Linked DNA regions of Homo sapiens: region 1 is linked to region 2. Evidence: promoter capture Hi-C in 16 types of primary human blood cells and fetal thymus (Javierre and others, 2016). All regions are on one chromosome and are shown on one strand. Each heading gives the region's core, a stretch centred on a gene start or on the middle of the fragment in contact. The rest is flanking DNA. Distances are from core to core; before and after follow the strand shown. Region 1 overlaps WDR7 (WD repeat domain 7). Region 2 holds the start of ST8SIA3 (ST8 alpha-N-acetyl-neuraminide alpha-2,8-sialyltransferase 3).

The links. Contacts are between HindIII fragments. The CHiCAGO score rates a contact against its expected background, and 5 or more counts as called.
Region 1: a fragment that was not itself captured here is called in contact with the fragment with the promoter of ST8SIA3 in region 2 in 2 of 17 cell types (endothelial precursors and M1 macrophages); the score reaches 5.5 in endothelial precursors.

The regions. Positions count from the first base shown.
Region 1 is chr18:56,762,040-56,767,399 of GRCh38, reverse strand. All of the region lies in intron 16 of WDR7 (WD repeat domain 7), which reads right to left. Among named protein-coding and RNA genes, the nearest start is that of WDR7, 110 kb to the right of the region's middle. The HindIII fragment of the contact is 257 bases long and covers 1,380-1,636 here.
Region 2 is chr18:57,349,916-57,355,953 of GRCh38, reverse strand. It overlaps ST8SIA3 (ST8 alpha-N-acetyl-neuraminide alpha-2,8-sialyltransferase 3), which reads right to left and starts at 3,397. Exons shown (of 4, transcript NM_015879.3): 1 at 2,929-3,397; 2 at 1,430-1,552. The coding sequence starts at 3,107. The HindIII fragment of the contact is 6,120 bases long and covers 1-4,754 here.

The DNA.
Region 1 (5,360 bases), core at 259-2,758, 590 kb after region 2:
CCCTGAGTTCAGGAGACAAAGCTGAGAGTCTCAGGAAACCAGGGCAGCTAGAATTCAATGTACAGAAAGAAGGGAGCTGCAAAGATCAAAGTTCTTCAGAGGATCTCCCTCAAGTATACAGCAGAATACCAATCAGTACATGTCTGTAAAGAAACTACTCGAGCTGGGGGGAAAATATCTAAAGGACCAGAAACAGTGCCTGCTCCCAACAGCCTAAATGGAAAACCTCATAATTCACAGGGCATTGGATATTCTGGAAGGTTTGGCCTCAGTAATAGGGAGTAATTCATCTTAGAGCACTGCTCCAAATCCACCTAACAAGTCATAAAAGCAAGACCAGGAAAAAAAAGAAACTGTTTCCACATGACATAACTGCATCCCACAACAAAGCTCAAGATTTTTAAGAACACAAAAGTGTCCAGCACCCAAACAGGCAAAATTCAAACATCTCCCATCTATTCTAAGATTATCAAACACGCAAAGAGGCAGGAAAGCACAGTCCACAAGGAGGAGAATAATTAATTTAAACCAACCCAGAACTGACAGAGCTATCAAAATTATCAGTGAAGGGTGTTAAAACATTTATTATAACTGCAATCCATGTATTCAAAGCAGTTAGGTAGAGACAAGGAAAAAAAATTTTAAGACCCAAATCAAAATTCTGGGGACACATATAACAATGTCTGAGATTAAAAGTGAATTGGATGACAGCTGGGCATGGTCACTCATGCCTGCAATCCCAGCACTTTGAGGGGGCCAAACAGGGAAAATTGCTGCAGCCTGGGGGTTCAAGACCAACCTAGGCAACATAGCGAGACACTGTCTCTATAAAAAAAAATAAAAATAAATTTTTAAAGTGCACTGGATGGGACCAATGGCATATTACACATTGCTGAGAAAAGACTAATAAACTTGAAGACATTGCAATGGAAACTATCTCAATCAAAACACAGAGAGGAAAAATAATCCCGAAATAAAAGAGCACCGTGATAGGTGAAACAACTTCAATCAGCCTAACGTACATGTAATTTCAGTCCCTTAGAGAGAGGAGGGAGGAAAGGGCAGAATGAATATTTGAAGAAATAATTATTGAAAATTTTTCAAAATTAATAAACTCAATGAACCCCAACCACAAGAAACATGAAGAACACTACACTGAAGAACCACACAATCAAACTGCTCAAAACCAGTGATAAACGGAAAATCTTAAAAGCAACAAGATTAATAAAGTAATGTTACAGTCAGAGGAACAAAGATAAGAATGCTATCAGATCTTGTTAGAACTAATGCAAACAAGAAGACAACAGAATATCATCTTCAAAGCATTAAAAGATATAAAAAGTCAACCTGGAATTCTATACCAGAAAAAAAAAAAAGCTTTCAAAAACAAAGACAAACAAAGATGTTTTCAAATGTACAAAAACTTGAAGAGCAGACGCTCACTAAAAGAAAGATTAGCATGCAGGGCTTAAAACCTAGATGACAGCTTGATAGGTACAGCAAAACAACATGGCACATGTGTATCCATGTAGCAAACCTGCACGTTCAGCACATGGATCCCAGAACTTAAATAAATAAATAAATAGATAGATAGATACATACATACATACATATATACATACATAAAAAGAAAGCTTAAAGTAAGTCCTTTTGTTAGAAGAATTTTACCAGATAGAAGTCTTGATCTACACAAAGGAATGTAGAATACCAAAAAAGGTAACTACGTGGGTAAATATGTATTTTTTCTTATTTCAGTCTCTTTAAAATATAATTACTGTTAAACACAAATCACAAGAATAATTTGTGAGGTTTATAACATATATAAAAGTAAAATGCAGGACAACAGTAGCATAAAGACCAGGAGATGAGAAATGCTAATATAATATTATAAGGTTTAACATTTATATTAAATGTTAAATAGTATAATAGCACTTGAATGTACACTGTGATAACGGAAAGACATAGACTACAGACTCTAAAAAAACTACTAAAATAATAAAAATTAGCTTATAAAGCCATAAAGGAGATCAAATGGAATCATAAAAAAAATCTTTTTAGTCTAAAAGACAGCAGAAAAAGAAAAAGAACAAAAAATAAATGCAACGAAGAGAAAAATAAGGTAGTAGGATAACAGATTCAAACCTAACCATATCAACAATCACATTAAATGTAAACGGCTTATGCATCTCAAGTAAAAAGCAGGTCAGATTGGATTAAAAAATAAGACCCACTATATGCTGCCCACAAGAAACACATCTTAAATATAAAGAGCCAAATAGGTAAAAAGTAAAAGGATGAGAAAAGATTATACTATGTTAACAGTAGCCAAAAATGCTGAAATTACTGTATTATTATAAACAAAGTAAATTTCAAAGCAAAGGACATTACCAAGGATAAAGAAGGTCATTTCATAATGACGAGGGTCAAATAATCAAGAAGAAATAAAAATTCCAAAGGTTTATGCACCTAATAAGAGAGCTTCAAAATACATGAAGCAAAAACTGGGATAGAAATGCAAGAAGGAATAAACAAACCCATAATTATAGCTGCAGATTCAATACTCTTATTTAATTGATAAAGGCAAGCAGGCAGAAAAATCAGCAAGTATATACTAAACTTGAACACGGGCAACTTGACCTGACTGACAGTTATAAAATATTCCACCCAACAACAGCAGAATACACATTCTTCTGAAGTACACACAGTATATTTACCAAGACAGACTATATTTTGGGCCATAAAACAAGTCTCAATAAATTCAAAAGGATTCACATTGTATAACATGGAGACTATAGTTAGTAACAATGTATTATATACTTAAAAATTGCTGAGGGAGTAATTTTAAGTGTTCTCAACACACATAAAATGATACATATATGAGGTCATAGATATGTTAATTAGCTAGATTTAGCCATTCCACAATGTACACATGTATCAAAACATCATGTTGTACACTATAAATGTACGCAATGTTATTGGCCCATATATAAACACAATCAATTGAAACAAATGCCAAAGGATTCAAACCACACAAAATATAGTATCTGACCATAAAATGAAAACCAGTAACAGACAGATCCTAGGAAAATCCACAAGTGTTTGGAAATTATATTAACTGATTACTAAATTATCCATGGGTAAAAGAAAAAAATCAAAAGGAAAATTAAAAGTACAATATGGCAAAGTGTGTGTAATGCCACTAAAATAATACTTAGGGGAAAATTTGTAGCATTGAATGCCTATATTAGAAAAGGAGAAAGGTTTTAAATCAATGATCTCAGCTTTTACCTTAAGAAATTAAAAATATAAGAGCACATTTAAAATAGAAAAAATAAATAATAATCAAATCAAAAACCAGTGAAATAGAAAAATAATAGATATCAATGAATAGAAGGCTAGTTCTTTGAAAAGATCCATAAAATTGCTAAACTACAAGACAGACTGATCAAGAAAAAGGGAAAAAACATAAATTATGAATAACAGAAATGAAAGAGTGAATATAATTTCAAATCCTACAAATATGATAGTAAAAGCAAAATAAAAGATTACACACAACTTTTTGCTGATAAATTTGACACAAATGATCAAAGTTCACCCAAGTAGACATTTTTGAAAACAAGCAGAATAGCCCTATATCTATAATACTTTTAAATCCGTAGTTAAAAACCTTCCCATAAAGAAAACCCCTGGGCTTTCACTAGTGAATTAGATCAACCAAATATGGAAGAATTATCAACCTACACTCACCCGTCCAGAAAATACAGGGAAAGGGGCTACTTCCTAATTCATTCTGTGAGGCCAGCATTATCCTATCAGCAAAACTGGACAAAGGCATTAATAGAAATGAAAACTAAAGACCAAACTTCCTCATGAACTTACACATGAACACCCTTAACAAAATTTTAGCAAATTGTACCTAACAAACTATAAAATTGGTAATTCAAAATGTGGTCTATATTGCAAGGTTGTTTTAAAACTTAAAAGTCAATATACTTTGTCTTATTAAGAAAATAAAAGACAAAAATCAAATAATCATTTCAATAGATGCAGAAAAAACATCTGAATAAAATCTAACATCTATTCATAATTTTTAAAATCTCGACAAACTAAGAATAGAATGGAACTTTTTCAACCTGATAAAGAACATCGAAGAAGGCCAGGCGTGGTGGCTCACGCATGTAATCCCAGCACTGTGGGAGGATCACGAGGTCAGGAGCTCAAGACCATCCTGGCTAACACGGTGAAACCCTGTCTCTACTAAAAATACAAAAAATTAGCTGGGCGTGGTGCGGGCGCCTGTAGTCCCAGCTACTCAGGAGGCTGAGGCAGGAGAATAGCATGAACCCAGGAGGCGGAGCTTGCAGTGAGCTGAGATCGCGCCACTGCACTCCAGCCTGGGCGACAGAGCCAGACTCCATCTCAAAAACAAAACAAAACAAAAAAACAAACAAACAAAAAAAAAACTTTATTCGTAGGCAACCCAAGGTAAAAAAAAAAAAAAATTCTTACTAAGGTAAGAAAAATTGGACAAAAGATATAAATAGGCATTTCGCCAAAATGGACATATGGATGGCAAACAAAAAACAAAACAAAACAAAAAACAGCACACTGAATCCAAAAAATGGAGGAGGATGTAAATAAAGAGCAGAATTTAAGGAAGTGGGGAAAAATATGCACTAGAAAGGATAAAGTCAAATTGAGGTCATTAAAATGACTAATAAGATTGATAAACCCCTGGTAAGACTGATGAAGCAAAAAGAGAGAAGACATAAATTATTAAAATCAGGAATAAAAACAAGGACATATTACAGATACCAGAGAGATTAAAAGACAATATTATAATCTCAAATGTCAATATATTTGAAAATTTAGAATCAGAGAAACTCCTAAATATGTACTACTTAACAAAACTGACACCAAAGAAACAAAATCTGAAAAGTCAATGAGATAAGTTGAACCCAGAATTAAAAACTGCCTACAAAGAAAACTCTAGATCTAAATCCAGCAAATTTAAATCTAGAGTTTGAATTTATGAAAGAAATGTTGCCAATCTTATACAAACTCTTCATGAAAATAGAAAAAAAAGAAAACATTCCACAACTCAGTTTTTGTAACCTGAATAATCTGAAAGCTTCTAAGGACATCAGAAAAAAAAAGTTTTCCTAAATAAAAAATATTAAATCAAATACAATAATTTATAAGAAAATAATACATCAAAACAAAATTGGTTTTATTCTAGGATGCAAGATTGGGTTTATGTTCTAAATTTGCCACATTAATAGAGGAAAATTAAAAGTTATACAATCATCTCAATCAATACAGAAAAGGTATGATAAAATCCAAATACACTGATGATAAAC
Region 2 (6,038 bases), core at 2,148-4,647:
TTAATTTAAAAATGACTTCATTCTTCAAAATAGAGGCAACAGCAACTGAAATCTTTGAAACTCCCCAAGTTACCAGTACCACTCTTACAAGTTGTTAAAAAGGTAAGGCAGATTTAAAATGCTACTGGTAAAAATTTAATGAAAGATTATCTAATTAATTAAAATGAGCGAAGTTTTGAGAAGGAAATATTCTTCTGACTGGTCATTTGGGTCACATGGCCTAGTGTGGGAAGAATATTTTTTATTGAGTTAGAAACATGTTTTGGGGAAAGCTAGAATGTGTTCTACCCATGAAAACGTTCTGGGTTGTCCATAAAATTAATATTGAATTAAAACCCAATTATTAAAAAAACACTTCTAGAGTTTTAGAATTGATCAATTTTCATGAACTAATTTATAATTAAACATAAGTGTTTTTAAAATGTTAATCATATGACTGTATGCTGACTTTTCATCTGAACAGTATTTTCATGAGACCATGAATACCCACTGAATTTGTTTTAATTCTGCCCATAGATTAAACTTTTAAAAGAGAGAGAGAGCAATAACTAGAAATGCTAAGATCAAAACACAACTCCCTAAATAGAGTGGTTTGTAAAATAAGTATTCACACTTCTAATGAATACGCTAGATGGCTCACATCCCATTTAGCAGTAAAATAATCCCACCATGAAGGAAGGAGTAATGAGTTATCGTGGTTTGCTAAGAGTAGACCAGAATCACTGAGCAGAATAAATACATTTGAACAAATCTCATCCTTCTTCCACCTAAAAAAACAAAACCTCAAAACCATCTTATGTGTATAAAATGAAACCGCTACAATTAGTAGGAATTAAGTTAGGTACCTTTACAGTAAGTTAAAAGCTGTAAAGACAATGAAAACAGGCAAAACCAAAACAAAACCATAGTTAAATATCTACATACATTTGGGCCAGCATTTTCACGAGTAATTTGATGGAGACAGATTATGGCATTTTCCGTGTGTTTCAAAGAAACAATACCACTTTATTCTATTTTTCAAGTTTTTTTCAGTGAGGAAATGAAAATGCATTGGGTGGTCTTTTTGCAACTAACCTTTTGTCTGTTTTTTTTTTTTAAATAGATGGCTTTGGCAGTACTTGCCAGACTTGTTAGCTGTAAATCATGGTGCTCAATCAAGCCCAAGTGGAATGCTTTTTTTTTTTTTTGCTATTCAAATTGGTCCTGATATGTCCTTTTTATGAGAGGACACTACACACACAGGAGAAGGTTCCTGATCATTGCTTTGTGCAGTCATGCCAAGAAAACAATGCAGATACACCTGATGGTGAGGGTGGGGCGTATAGATGTTTGTTGTTTTAGATGTTTTTGTTTGCTTGTTTTTGTTTTGTTTTGTTTTGAGCTCTTGAATTCTTAAAAGCACCTTTTGGATCTTTTCCTCCTATCCTACCTTTGATGTAAAAACGCTGTCCGATTAAATTTCCACTTAGAAGGTTTCTCTTGGAGTTCCTGGGTGAGAGAATTCGTAATGGGCACGAATGACGGGTCTAGAAACTTCAGCGCAAATTGTGACCTGGAGAGGAGCATGAGCACAGACAAGCGTGCTGGCCTCAGCTCGGGGAAGCCGAGGTAGCCATTAAAGTGCAGCGGCTGGGGCGAGGGCGGCTGGTACGCGTGCGGGCTCCGTTCCGTCCCGGAGCCCCTCTCATTTGGTCCACCCTCTGCTCCCACACACACCCGAGAGAAAAAAAGAAAACTAGGGAACCCCATCTGCATTGTCCATCCCTCCGGGTGCCGGAGAGACCATAAAATGGCCGTCATGCGGAGAGCAGGGCGCACGCCGGGCGCAGGGCTGGAGCCCGCGGCGCTGCGAGGACCAGGGAATCAGCACCGCGGACAGCGGCCGCCCCGCCAGCCTGACCCGCTACGCCTTTGCAGCCCCATAGAATTGTTTTTGGAGAAAGGGCAGAGGAAACCGGAGACCCAGGGAAAGTCTGGGGGTGGTTCCTGCCTTAACCTCTTCCTTCCCAAACCCACGTCCGATTTCACTTCCTATAACTTGGCTGGGGACCCCCGGGGGCCGCCGGCCTACTCCGCTCCTCGGTCCAGGCGAGGCTCCTCTGGGTTCCTCGCCTCGGTCCCAGCTTGGACCACAGGTGGCACTTTGTAGTTGCCACCTGCCCGTCAGGAGGCCCTGCTGGGAGAGTTCCCGGGGTCACAGAGCGGGGCGGGGGCTCTCGCAGAGCGGCGTCAAGCTGCGCCTGGAGCCTTCACAGGCCGGCCCAGCGCGGAGCGGTGACTCCGACCTGGCGAGGGTGGGCGGCCCTTCCGAGGCTCGCTTCCCGCAGGGGGCGGGGGAATTGCAGAAATCCCGGAAAGCTGGTGGGGGGCGGTGGCTGCGGGGGAAAGGGTTGAGAGAGAACGCCCCAGGGGCTTCCTGAGAATAAACCCGCGTGTCCTTTGATAGGCGTGGGGGAGTAAAGGAGGAGGGCGCGAGGGGAGTCCGGCGCCTGCGCCATTAAACCGCCAGCACCGCCCCGGGCCCGGCCCGCGGAGTCTGCGGACAGGGCGCGGGGAGGGCGCTCCCCTCACGCCTGTCCATCTCTGCTCGCCGCCCCCTCCCGAACAAACACACCGTCTTTCCCTCCACCCTCACCCTCCTGAAAGCCTCCCCCAACCCCCATTTCTGAAATGAGGGAAGGGATGCTGAGGAAGAATACGAGAAATGCAATCACATCGATTTGGACAGCGGCTTCTAGGGGCTTTGGGTTAAAAAAAAAATAACAGGGAGGGGGAAGGGAGAATTAGAGAGAGGAGTGGAAGGACCGCGCAGTTATCTGGCCCAAAGAGTCTCGGAGAGGCCAAAACACCCCTCCCCCACGCCTTCCCTTCCCCAAACACCCCATCAACCAAATTCCCGAGGGCACTAACACAGAGGCCCGCACTCACCGGAATCCCGCGTGGAACATGTACATTCGGGGCGCCCCCGGGCTGGCGTACTTGGGAGTGGTGAAGATGTTCTCCTTTTTCAGGGACACGTAGCTGATGAGCGATAAAATCAGCAGGGCGACGCTGAGCATGACCAGCCCCAGCACACTGGCGACCCGGGCCATTTTGCAGTTTCTCATCCCGGGCTGGGCTGGGTTCAGGGAAACCGGGGAAATCGGTCCATTGAGCGGCCAGCAGCTCGCTGGCGTGTATATATGTGTGTGTGTGTGTGTGTGTGTGTGTGTGTGTGTGTGAGCGCGCGCGCGTGTGGCGGAGGAGGGGGACCCGGGCGGGGGTGGGGGGAGGCCACCGGGGCCGGGGGTTGGGGCTGGCAGGAGCCCCGGAGAGCAGCGGGACCCCGTAGGCAGGGGCGCGCGGGGCCCGGTGCCGAGCAGGAAGATGGAGGGGCTGCGCGGCGGCGTGGCGAAGGAGCGCGCAGCGCCGTGCGTCCCCGGCCGCCGGCTCAGGCTCCCCCGCGCGTTTCCAGCGAGGCTGCCATCTCCTCCGCCGCCTGCAAGATAAATGTGATTGGAATAATGTTACAGTTCGATCTAAGCACAGGATTTAATTAATGAACTCTAATCTCCCAAATAACCGGGGGGAGGGGGTGCAGGAGAGGGAGGGAGTAGAGGGAAATGGTGGAGGGAGGGGGACTGAGGCTGCCAGGCTGCAGCCCGAGCCTACGGCCTCCCCGGCTGAGGGTGCCGGCGAGGAGGTGGCTGTGGGGAGACGGGATCCCAAACTTAGTTTAATGGACCATTCATTACTTTATAATATCACGGAATAGAGAGACAAATAACCGGATTTGCTGTCCTGGAGGGTAAACAACAGCTGGGTGCTTCTCAAAGAAGCAGGGAGGATGGTTTTTGGAAGGCAGCTATTTAAAAGCATCTCCCCTCGTTAAGGCACCGCCCCGGCCCCCTGCCCCCGCCATCCTCCCACCCCAAAGGAAGCTCCAAACAGCAACTGGGCCTGCCTGCCTCGGGAGCCCTTAAAACCTTCTTGGAATTTGCCAGAATGACTCCCCTGTGCGCCTTGTATGCCCACCACATACTTCACTTATCCCTAAAGGGTGGGTAGTGCCTAGCAAAGTTGCGAGGTGACCTGTGAGTCGGGAGGGCCTGCCTTCCTCTCCCCTTTCCGTCTTCCAGTGGATGGACAATGTGCTTGCCCCTGACTTGACTGGGCCTGTTGAAGTCAGCCCTGGTTTAACTCTCCGTTGCCCACTCTTCAGATCCATCCTTCGGGCCTGGTCTCCTGATGGGCTAGGTGGCCTGAGCCTCCCAAAAGCTGAGGCCATTAAAAAACACAGAACTTTTTATGAAGCAGCCCAAGAACCAAATAATAGAGGCTGCCTCTGAGAGTGGAAGGCAAACGCACTAACACTTTGCATTGCTTGACCTTAAATTTATTTTAGCATATTCACGTGTTTCTTGTATATCCATTAGAAATACAAATTAATCCATTTTCAGTCATGCAGTTGGGTGCTCAGGGGAAACTAGCATGTTTCTTTAGCTCTGTCCTTTGCAATTAGCTTATGGCCTCTGCTACCCTAGCTTTACTCTTCGCTTGGTCCTCCCAATACTAGTTAATAAGCACTAATGAGGGAAGCTAGGGGTGAGAAATTGGCGTTTGAGTTCTGATAAAACAAGTTGAGATTCTTCCAAGATGGTTATGACTTCTTTCTCTCCTGAACTTCTTGCCTTGTAGGCTTTCATGGACCTAATGTTATTATCTGTCTGGAGGCTGTAAATTCCTTGAAGGGGTGAGCTCCTGGATTGTAAGCTTCGGCAGAGCAAGGCTTGTCTTACTTCTCCAATACTGTCTCTTACACATGTCATGCTTGCTAAATGTTTGAAGACCTGATGAGCTCCCTTGGGAAACATATCTGTGTGGTTGTGGACAGTGGCACAAAGAATGCTCCTATTTGTTTCCAGTGACAAAGGGGGTCACTTTGCACCCACTAGAGACTTTTTAACCAAAATCTAAAAGTGTGTGTCAGGAGGACACAAATAACCTCCTTTCCTCTGTGGGGCTTTTTTATTATTTAAAAAAATTTAGAAAAGGCTTGCATGCCTGGATATGATGAACACTTGAACTGTATTTTTTTAAATTGCTATTTTTTAAAAATGATTGTATGAGTAAGGTGTAAAATGCCAAAGGGAGTAAGATCTTAAGAGAGCCATCTAGGAATGACACCTGTTAGAAAAAGTCTTCTTGAACCAGAAATCAGGAAACATGCTATGGAGAGGCAGCCTGGGGTAGTGTTACACCTTCAGACTGTGGAGCCAGAAAGACCTGACTTCAAAAGCATACTCTGGGTATTATCAAAAACACAAAAAATAACAAATGCTGGCAAGGATGCAGAGAAAAGGGAACTCGTATACACTGTTGGTGGGAATGCATTCTAGTACAGCCACTATGGAGAACAGTACAGAGGTACCTGAAAAAAACTACAAACTGAACTATTATAAGATCCAGTATTCCCATGACTGGGCGTTTATGCAAAGGAACGGAAATCAGTATGTCAAAGAGATATCTACCACCATGTTTATTGCCACATTGTTCACAATAGCCAAGATATGGATCAACCCAAGTATTCAACAACAGATGAATGGATAAAGAAAATGTGGTATATATACATAAAGGAATCCCATTCATCCATAAGTAAGAATGAAATTCTGTCATTCTCAGCAACAGGAATGAGCCTGGAGGACATTATGTTAAGTGAAATAAGCCAGGAACAGAAAGTTAAACACCGCATGTTCTCACTCATACACAGAAGCTAAAAAAGCTGATCTCAAAGAAGTAAAAAGTAGAACAGAGAATACTAGAGGCTGGGAAGTGTACGGGGGAGAGAGGATAAAATATTTATTAAAGGATACAAAATTACAGCTGGATAGAAGGAATAAGTTCTAGTGTTCTATAGCACTATAGGATGACTATAGTTACAATAATGTATTGTATATTTTCATATACCTAGAAGAGAAGATATTGAATGCCCCAAAACAAAGAAATGATACAAGTTTGAAATGACAAATATGCTAATTACCCTGATGGGATCACTATGT